3 separate regions of the Homo sapiens genome follow, and all the other regions are linked to region 3. Evidence: promoter capture Hi-C in 16 types of primary human blood cells and fetal thymus (Javierre and others, 2016). All regions are on one chromosome and are shown on one strand. The core of a region is centred on a gene start or on the middle of the fragment in contact, and the rest is flanking DNA. Distances in the headings are between cores, read along the strand shown.

What was found. The method cuts DNA at HindIII sites, captures the fragments that hold promoters and counts their contacts. A CHiCAGO score of 5 or more calls a contact.
Region 1: a contact is called between a fragment that was not itself captured here and the fragment with the promoter of STC1 in region 3, in 4 of 17 cell types (total B cells, naive B cells, M2 macrophages and 1 more). The highest score is 8.7, in total B cells.
Region 2: a fragment that was not itself captured here is called in contact with the fragment with the promoter of STC1 in region 3 in 3 of 17 cell types (naive B cells, total B cells and endothelial precursors); the score reaches 9.0 in naive B cells.

What each region holds. Positions count from the first base shown.
Region 1 is chr8:24,443,544-24,446,988 of GRCh38, reverse strand. The region is part of intron 2 of ADAM7 (ADAM metallopeptidase domain 7); the gene reads right to left. The region is part of intron 1 of ADAM7-AS1 (ADAM7, ADAMDEC1 and ADAM28 antisense RNA 1); the gene reads left to right. Among named protein-coding and RNA genes, the nearest start is that of ADAM7, 4.2 kb to the right of the region's middle. The HindIII fragment of the contact is 2,438 bases long and covers 510-2,947 here.
Region 2 is chr8:24,393,093-24,396,463 of GRCh38, reverse strand. It overlaps ADAMDEC1 (ADAM like decysin 1), which reads right to left. Exons shown (of 14, transcript NM_014479.3): 3 at 3,126-3,202; 4 at 2,317-2,395; 5 at 668-744. The region is part of intron 1 of ADAM7-AS1 (ADAM7, ADAMDEC1 and ADAM28 antisense RNA 1); the gene reads left to right. Among named protein-coding and RNA genes, the nearest start is that of ADAMDEC1, 10 kb to the right of the region's middle. The HindIII fragment of the contact is 1,458 bases long and covers 633-2,090 here.
Region 3 is chr8:23,852,986-23,856,261 of GRCh38, reverse strand. It overlaps STC1 (stanniocalcin 1), which reads left to right and starts at 1,456. Exons shown (of 4, transcript NM_003155.3): 1 at 1,456-1,856. The coding sequence starts at 1,739. The HindIII fragment of the contact is 2,191 bases long and covers 1-1,632 here.

The DNA.
Region 1 (3,445 bases), core at 479-2,978, 590 kb before region 3:
ATTTTAGAACTAGATTTCTTCTAGTTATATTAGAATAAAATATAAATATAGTTATTCTTTTATATTATAGTTTATATTATTAGTTATATTACAACTATTTATATTATAACATAGCATGTTATAATATAGTTTAATATAATATAATATAGCATATTATATATAGTTTCTAGTTATACAATTAAATGGAAAATGCAGATTCTCTCCTCATCCAAGGATACACCATTTACCATATGTCCATGTAGCAGCTCTATACACAGATATCCTGTTCACGCATTTTTAAAGCGATTTTTATACATACTGTTTTTTCGTCTACTTTGCACTCAATGATAAATCATGACTATTTCCTATTTTAATAAATTTTTTATAGTATGTGTCTTTAGGCAGCTAAGCACAATGTGAGTGAAACTTCATTTATTTAATCTATATTTACTATGAGAAATTTGGTTTGGGGTATTCCCTGTCGTTGGACAGAGCTGCATTTTCAATGACATGAAAAAAAATGTAAAGCTTTTATAACTATTGCCAAACTATCATGAAGAAAGGAAGTGGTCATGTTTAGAACCTCACCATCAATTTATAGCAGTTTCTGTTTCCTTGCCTTCTTACCAATAATAGATATTATGATTAATACAAATATTTTAAACAATGAAATGATGACTTATTGTGATAAATTGTTTTCCTGGATGATCATTCACATCAATATTTTTCCTTTATTTATTTAGTTATTTGTAGTTTTCATATGGATTCTGATTCATGCCCTTTCACCAGTTTCTTTTGTGGTATTTTATTTCTTCATGCTTCTTAAAAATTCTCTATAATTTAAGATTCACAGTTGTTGGTCATACATGTTGCACATTACTTTGAGATGACTGTTCATTCATTTATTCAATGACTACTATTTCAGGCACAGAGATAATATGGAAAATACAATGGTGTAGACGGTGGAGGTCTCTGCCCTCATGGAAGTCCCTGCTTGGCAGAGAAAAACACTGGATAACCAAGCACACATAGTGGAGTGTAATGAGCATCATAATAGGAGAAATGCAAGGACTGTGCCAGGGATATTACAAGGAGAAGTCAGGGGCAGGGAACAGCACATGCCAAGGCTCTGAGCCAGGAAGGAACATGACACATTTGAAGAACAGACAGAGGTTCAATATTACTGGAAAATCAGGTGTAAGTTGAATAGAAATGAAATGACAAAGTGGGAAGGAGTAAATCATGTTCAACCTAGTAAGTCAAAGATTTGGGCCTTATCCTATGAACAAAGAGAAGCAAAATATCTAGGCAGAAACATGCCATAGCAAGCATGGTGTTTTAGTACTTTACTTCTTGTAGATAATGGATTAGCAAAACTCAGTACTATAGCCAGGAAAACCATTTAAGGCTGTTGATGAATGCAGATGATTTGAGCAGAGGAGTAAGCAGTAGATAACTTTAAAAGACATTTACATGCTAGAATCTACAAGCCTCAGTGATAGTCAGATGGAGTAAGAGAGAGTAGTCAAGACTAAGCCCAGATTTCTGATTTGTTTAACTTGTAGAGCTGTGCTACTATAGCAAGGAGGATCTGAAGAGGGTCAGCTATGAGGTTGGGAAGGAGAGTTTTGTGTTTATTCAATGTTAAGTGTGCATTAGTTAAGGTTGTTTTGACTGCAAGTTGAACAATAAAATTACAGCTTTATCATAAAGACACAGAATCCCCACGTGGGAGGCCAAGAAACTAGGGTGGGTACTTAATCAGATAGAAAGGGTTTGGTCACATTTTGCAACATGATGAGTTGTATGTGTAGAGGTGTGTATGTGTGTGTGTCTGCATGTATGTGTACATGCATGTATGGGTGTAATGGTGGCAATGGAACTTTTTTGGAAATTCAGATATGGATTTTATATTAACAAATATTAGAAGATTTTTAATATTGTCAATATTGTTAATAGGATATTTTAAATTGTGTCATTAATACTGTTTTTAATAACAATTTGGTTTTTAATTTTTATTTTGGAATCATTTTAGATTTACAGAAAAGTTGGAAAGATAGTACAGAGTTTCCATATACTCTGCACTCAGGTTTCCCTGTTTATTAGCATCTGACATTACTATAGTCTATTTGTCACAACGAATAAGCCCAGATTCATAAACTACTATTAATTATAGTTATTCAGGTCTTCTTAGTTTTTCCCTGATGTGCTTTAACTCTTTCAGGATCTGATCCCAGATTCCACACTACGTTTAGTTGTCAGGTCTCCTTAGCCTCCTGAAGTCTCACAGTTTCTCAGGTTTTTTCGTTTTTTTGTGTTTTTTTTTTTACGATCTGGACCTTTATGGGGAGTATCTGTCAAGCATTTTGTAGGGCGTCTTACAATTTGTTTTTGTTCTGATATTTTTCTCATGCTTAGACTGATGTTACAGATTTTGAGGTGAGAGCCATAATAGAAAATGCCATTTTATTACACCCTACTAGCCACAGGACTTAGCAAGTGTTAAACCTGATCACGTGGCTGAGGTGGTGTTTTCATCTTTCTCTCTGTAAAATGACTCTTTCCCCCCTTCAGTATGGTACTTCCTGGAAGGAAGTCACAATCTACAACCCACACTTAATGGGTGGGGATTTAGGTTCCACCCCCTGGAGAGGACAGCATCTACATAAATTATTTGATTCCTCTCCCAGAAGAAGTGTCCATTTTTTCAATTTATTTATTTAATTTATTTATTTATTTATTATATATTATTTATTCAGTCATTTATTTATATCAGTATGGGCTCATGATATTTATTTACACTTCATGTCATAATACAAAGCTGTTATTTATTTTGTTCTTCACATTATCCCAGCTTTGGCCATCGGGAGCTCTTTCTGTTGGCTTCTGAATTCTTTTGACAAGACCCCTTCAATGTGGTTTGAATTTTGTTTTGTCTGTTTGAGCATATTCTGGTATACAAGAAGCTTTAGGTTCATTGTTTATATTCCTTGCCCTTATCCAAGCTTATCTGGTATATTCATAATGATATTTTTATTTTATTTTATTTTATTTTATTTTATTTTATTTTTATTTTTTGAGAGAGTCTTGCTCTGTTGCCCAGGCTGGAGCACAGTGGCATGATCTTGGCTCACTGCAACCTCTGCCTCCTGGGTTCAAGCGATTCACCTCAGCCTCCGGAGTAGCTGGGATTACAGGTGCACACCACCATGCCTGGCTAATTTTTGTATTTTTAGTAGAGATGGGGTTTCACCATGTTGGCCAGGCTGGTCTTGAACTCCTGGCCTCACGTGATCTGCCCTCCTCGGCCTCCCAAAGTGCTGGGGTTACAGGCATGAGCCACTGCACCCAGCCATAATGAGATTTTTAACATCAGTCTTGATTAAGTCTTAGGACAGTAGTCGTGAGAAGACGCCACCAGTGTATGCACAGTGGGTGGTAGAAAGCTGGTGAAAGCCCCCTTAGC
Region 2 (3,371 bases), core at 112-2,611, 540 kb before region 3:
CTTGGCTCATTGCAAGCTCCGCCTCCTGGGTTCATGCCATTCTCCTGCCTCAGCCTCCGGAGTAGCTGGGACTACAGGCGCCAGCCACCACACTCGGCTATTTTTTTTTGTATTTTTAGTAGAGATGGGGTTTCACCGTGTTAGCCAGGATGGTCTCAATCTTCTGACCTCCTGATCTGCCCGCCTCGCCCTCCCAAAGTGCTGGGATTACAGGCGTGAGCCACCGCACCCGGCCTGTTATTTTCTTATTTGTGCTTTTTCTTACTTTCCAAACTTTCTCTCATTGGCAATAATTATCTACGTAAACAGAAACACATATAATTCTAAAATTAAGTTCAACTGTGACCATTGCAGGGAAGAATGTTTTAGAAAACAGGAAGTAACTGTTTCAGAGAGTAGGTTGGATAAACACAGAAGTGGATCCAGATATCATCAAGGTCCAGAGTGTAGCATTCTTGTTTTACATTGCTAGGCCTGACTTCTCCTAGAGCAGCAGATTATGAAATGATTGTCAGGGTAATACTTTGTTCTTCACTTTAACCACATATATTCAGCATTTCAGCAATGAAAAATTTACCAAAATAGTAAGAAGACAATATCTAGTAGCCCTTAATTCTGTGTAACAAAAAGCTTCTTGATCTTGAGTAATTTTGATGGTAGTTCTTACCTCAACCCGTCACAAGTACTGATGCTGGCAACAGAATTCTTTTCATTTAGGATGTTTCCTTTATAGTAACAGTGTTCCTGGAGTGGAAAAAAGAAATTATGCTTCAGAAATGTGTGTGTGTGTGTGTATGTGAGTGTGTGTGTAATGTATAAACTATGAGAATACATGTATCACAGTTGTGAGGAAAGCTACCATCTTGAATATGTAAAAATTCTTCAAGTAGTGACTGTGGCCAGACCAATCCTCAGAAACACAAACAGCAAGAACCTCAGAGGTTTTCAGAATTGCTTCACTGGAAACTCTCTATATTTGGTGGCTGAACTGTTTTTCTGACATTAATTTACACTAAGGAGGAGTCCAGGGAAGTTAAACCTAGGTGGGCTCATAGTGAAAGTGGATGCTTTCTCTGAGAAGTAGCCAGTCCTCTTGGGATGTACAGTACTCCCAGTGGGTCCTCAGGTTTGGGGGTCAGTGCTCAAGAATTTGGCTTCACTGTGCTGAGTGCCAAAGGCACTGTGCATTACAAATAAGTAAAATGAGACATCTATTTTTCTAGACTGGGGAATCCCAGATATTTCACACTATCACTCCTGAGCTCCTCAGACTAACTGATTTAATCACTGTTTTAATTGGTCTGTTAGTGGAATCCCTTTATCAGCCTCAAAGACACAAAATTATTTGTCTACAATTAGAGATTCAGACATGATTGTTGGCCCACATCAGCAAAGTTAAGGGGCCACTTACGTGGAGTGATCTAAAAAAGGTAGTGAAAAAACTCCAGTGCAAAATAAATTGACCTGCCTCAGGTTATGAAATTCCATCTATGGTCTTTTCTCCCTTTTTGGAAGAGATATCGTCAACATAAACATTTTCTCATAGAAGACTTGAGAAGATTCCTCATTAATGTATCATCAGCTATTAACAATTGAGCATAAATTAATTTATCAGACACTGTCCGCTGAAGATAGTGTTAGCAAAAATTCAGATGTTCATGAAATAAGTTTTAATGAGCATGGGGAACAAAGAACCATTCTGTGGCAGAAGTCTTTTTTTTTATATAGAGAAATGCAGGTTTAGGGTACCTTGTAGGATGGCTCTGAGAAGCTGTCTTAGCCTGGGAACATGAACATCTCTTGATTGAGATTTATTGTATTCTCTTCATGATATTCTATGCCATGATTCTTAATGTCTGACATTTGGCCCTGGTATTGTCTACGGGATGATGATTTAATCAGATATAAAAATATTAATTATTGATATTTCATTGCTGACCTCAGGATAAATGCATGTATCTCCAAAAAATAGTAAATAGTGACAAGAGGTTTTAAGTACGTATAGAGAAGAACTTTTCTAACCTATGGATAAAATGGTCTAGGGAGAAGTGGACTTTTGGTTGCTTCCAAAAATGTGACACTTGGAAGCTTTCTGCTGCTCCTATGTTTTAAAAGCTGAATGTGATTTTCCAAACTGTTGTCTCATTGATCATAGATAAGCAACTTGCTTTCAAGTCCTTTGATTATTTTTTGAAGCTGTTCATGGACCTATGAATTTTATAAAATAATTGAGCCCTTTGGAGATCTTAGTTAACATTAGCACAAACTAATAACATCTAAAACTCAAAAGAGACCCACAAAGTATTCGGACCCTACCATGTTCTCAGGTTTCGTGGTAATTTCCTCTCCTCTGGGTGAGTACAATGTTTCAGTGTAGTCTGGCCCCAGGAGGTGCCTGTAGAGAGCAGAGAGCTGCATGGACCACTCAGGATGGTAAGAAAGGCAGAACTTCCTGAACTTCAGCACTAAAATAGTGATAGTGTCTACAATGATAAATAGCTAAGGTTCTGACCTACTAATCCTCTTCCAACATTGGAGCTCTGTTGCTGAAGCAAATCAGAGAGTTGGTTCTTCCTATTAAATCCGAGGGAGGAAGTCCCCTCATCTTCTTCCCATCTGCAGATCCCTATCTTCAAATTAGTAATTTTGAGATTTCTTGCACCAAGGACACAACCTCCACAGAACCTTTGAAGGGTGCTGGGTCACAAATATGCTTATAGGCCCATTGCATTCAGGGAGAAGTTTATTAACTGCTATAGAACTAGGAGGAACCCCATCCCCTGGAATCTATCTCTAGGCCATGCATTTTGAATCAGCCTTGGACACATATTCTCATAAAAGAATGGAAAGCTGCATCAAAGTCTTGAGTTTATCTGAGTAGAAAAAGAAGTTCACTAAGTTCCCAGGTCAAGGAAGAAAGTCATTTATATATGCCATTCCTTTTGTTTTACATTTTGTATATAATTTCCTAGGAAATCAGCCTTTTTAGCACAAACTAGTATCATCTAAAGCTCAAAATGCCTCATGTCTTCTATGTCAAACCACACTAAATGGAGCCTCAAAAAGATTGCTCCCCAATTTCATAACCTAATCCAGTGATTAGACTTTTAGGAGGTACAACTTACTTGGTTTTTTGTAGGGAGAGAATGATTTCTTCTCCATTTAAGATCATCTGATATTGAACTTCAGGTTCATACCTTTCCTGAAAACATTTAATTACATCAAGCAATTTATATTTCTGAGCATAACTAAAATAATTATATATGTAGTATGTATTAGAAGAACAATTACAAATGCATATAGGATAAAAGCAATTCTTTTGTGTTTTTAAAATATGTAAGACAAAACAAATTATGCACTAACATGGACTT
Region 3 (3,276 bases), core at 207-2,706:
GAGCTGACACTTGGTTTAGTTTGTGGTTAACAGGGGTGGCACTCTTTCTTCAACTTTTGTTTGAAGGTTTTAGGATGCAAAGTAAAGCCACTGGCCCCATTTCTCTGCAAGATTATCCTGCCCAAATCTGTATGAATCACCAGTGGCCATTTCTCATCTACTTCCCCAAAATTATTAAAGGTTTTATTGTATAATACCTTCACCACCTTCCTACCCTAAGAAGTCCTCTTCTGGCTCATTAACCTCCTTCACATGTTGGGGACAAACCTCAGCATTGCCTACAACTCACTTATAAGAAAATATAAGTTTCTATACCAGGCATGATTTGTGATTGCAGTGCAATTTTCCTATTAAGTCTAGAGCTTATCATTCTTCTCTCCTACACATTCTGGTCTTTCTCTACCCCTTCTTTCCATTCTGCCCCCTTTTTTCCTACCCCTCTCCCCAAGAAATGAACTGGTTTCCATTCAGCAGGTTTAGTCTTGCTTTGGCCAGCTTATTGTTTCAAAGTGGTTATAAAGTTGCTGGGCTTGAACACAGATTATTAATTTTCAGGCATTCATGATGTCTCCCTGTTGAGTGTGGTATGTGCAGGTGTGCACATGTGTACCTGGGGTAACTAACACTCCTGGACTATGCAATTTTGCTGGTGACTGAAAAGATGAAGTCAAAGTTGATTTGATTATTGAAGAATCACATTATTTTAGAGGTATACAGAATGTCAGAGTCCAACTTTGGCGTTTTACAGATGGGAAAACGAGGTGGGGCAAGGTAAAAAGACTTAGCCAGAGTCATAGGTTGATCAGTAGGGGGACTAAGGCTTCAGCTCTGAGCTGTCATATCTCAGTCCCCCAAGGCTTTTCCACTCACATAAATTCCCCCTCAAGGGCTCAAATGTGTGAGTGAGAACCCAGGATGTCCACATACAAACAAAAATGCATCATAGACATGTGAACATGTACACACAGAGAAGATAGGGAGTTATTGCATTTGTAGCCTACAAAACAGAACCGAGAATGTGCTGTTAAAATTAGAGTAAAACTGCTGTAAGCAGGTTAAGTTCTCATCTAAAGAGATCACATTTCCCCACCATACCCCTGCTATCCATTTCCCCCAAGTGGCTCATTAGAAAAAAAGATGGCTAGATTTCAAAAAGCAACTTGGAGAGATTTCTATAGGATTTTTCTTTAGTTCAATCAATACAGAGTTATCTCTTACTTCCACGAAAATAGCTTTTTCACACATCTCTGCACACACAGTCACACACACATATAAAACATTGGCAGCAGGTACTTTTAATTTGCTGGAAAATATTTCTAAGAAGTCAAAAAGCTCCAGCTGAATTGCATGCCCTCTTATTGGCTCACCAGACCAGTTGAGGGACCTGATTGGTCCTTGATCCTGAGGACCGATAAGAACGGCTATAAAATCCCTGGGTGCAGCTCTTGGGCCCCCAGTTTGCAAAAGCCAGAGGTGCAAGAAGCAGCGACTGCAGCAGCAGCAGCAGCAGCGGCGGTGGCAGCAGCAGCAGCAGCGGCGGCAGCAGCAGCAGCAGCGGAGGCACCGGTGGCAGCAGCAGCATCACCAGCAACAACAACAAAAAAAAATCCTCATCAAATCCTCACCTAAGCTTTCAGTGTATCCAGATCCACATCTTCACTCAAGCCAGGAGAGGGAAAGAGGAAAGGGGGGCAGGAAAAAAAAAAAACCCAACAACTTAGCGGAAACTTCTCAGAGAATGCTCCAAAACTCAGCAGTGCTTCTGGTGCTGGTGATCAGTGCTTCTGCAACCCATGAGGCGGAGCAGAATGACTCTGTGAGCCCCAGGAAATCCCGAGTGGCGGCTCAAAACTCAGGTAAGCAGCAAACCCAAGAGCGGTTTCTCCCCCAAAGAGCTGTCCTCATTTGCCTCTCCCTTTTGCAACTGTGTCTGTGACGGCTGATCTTGATAATAAATGTGCTTCATGCCTGATGGCAATAAACTGCCAGTGTAATCCAATAGCCTTAGGCAGTGGAGCTCCTTTGTTTAATAAATTGCATGCAACTAAACGAAGAAGCTGGACGCTCTGCTGAGGGTATTTCATTGCATAAGCCTAGCCTGATTGCCTGAAATCTGGCACGTACCCTCTTGGAGGGGGAGGGGTGAGAGGGGAGGAAAGGCTTGAATGTTGGCATGCTTCAAAGCGCTCTCTATACTTTCCAGAAGCTGATCTAAGGTAAGACCTGGCTTGTTTGATGCTGTCCCTCTTCCTTTCCTCTTAAGACTCTACCTCTTCACTTCTTGACTTCTCTACCTAAGAGAATACACAGAAAAGCTCCCTCTTCAGACTGATTTTCAGAACCATAGCCCTCAAGTCTGACAAATCCAGGGCGGATTCAGAGAAAACCCTATACATCCCACCCCCAACCCTGCTGCCTGTCTCCCTCCTGGCTCTGTAGGGCTCCATTCAGTCGTCCCTGCAGCCCGTAGCCAGAGAGCCCCTAGAAAAAAAAAATTGTGAAACGTAGCAGCTGTTTCTCCAAGGGTAAGGTCTCACTTTCGTCTTGACTCTTGGAGCAGTTAATTGTGCATTATCTTGGCTTCTGAAGGAAAAGAATCATTAGGAAGCCTGCATTGACACCTCTGCCTCTTGACTTCTCTGGCTCCACTTGTTCCCCTTCCAATACTGCCCTCTGTCCTCCAACTGTCAGCAAAGACCGGATCACAGGTGTCAAAATGCTGCAGATGATGATCCCCTTGGAAGAGCACAGGTCCCTGCCGAGAGGAGGGCTTTTGCTTCACTTCCTTTTGTACTTAGTTGCTATAGAGATGCAGTGATTCACAATTCGAGCTTGCCTAAAACAATAGCAGCCCTAATGCATATTAAAACTGCTTAAAGCAAAGTTATAATTTAAACCCGTGGAAATATATAATTAGGGAAATGACTTGTAACATCCTAGAGGCTGCGGGTGGTGGGAGGGGGTGGGGAAGACTAACTGAACCATGCTTTTGATCTCAGAGGAGAATCCTATGGCATGAAGGCTGCAGATCATTCCTTGCCTAGCTGCCTGCCAGAACACCCCCCTTCTGTGGGAGAAAAATTACTTTTATGGGAGATCTTATCCAGAATGTAGAAAGCCTCATGCAAGTTTTTTGCGGTTTTCTTCCAGTCTTGCATAGGGAGGCCTTGGCCTGGTTATTCCACACCTGTGTTTCTTCTTTCTTTCTTTCTTTCTTTCTTTCTTTTTTAAAAGGCTTTTAATATGAAAGAGATTATGCATACCTCTAAGCACTGT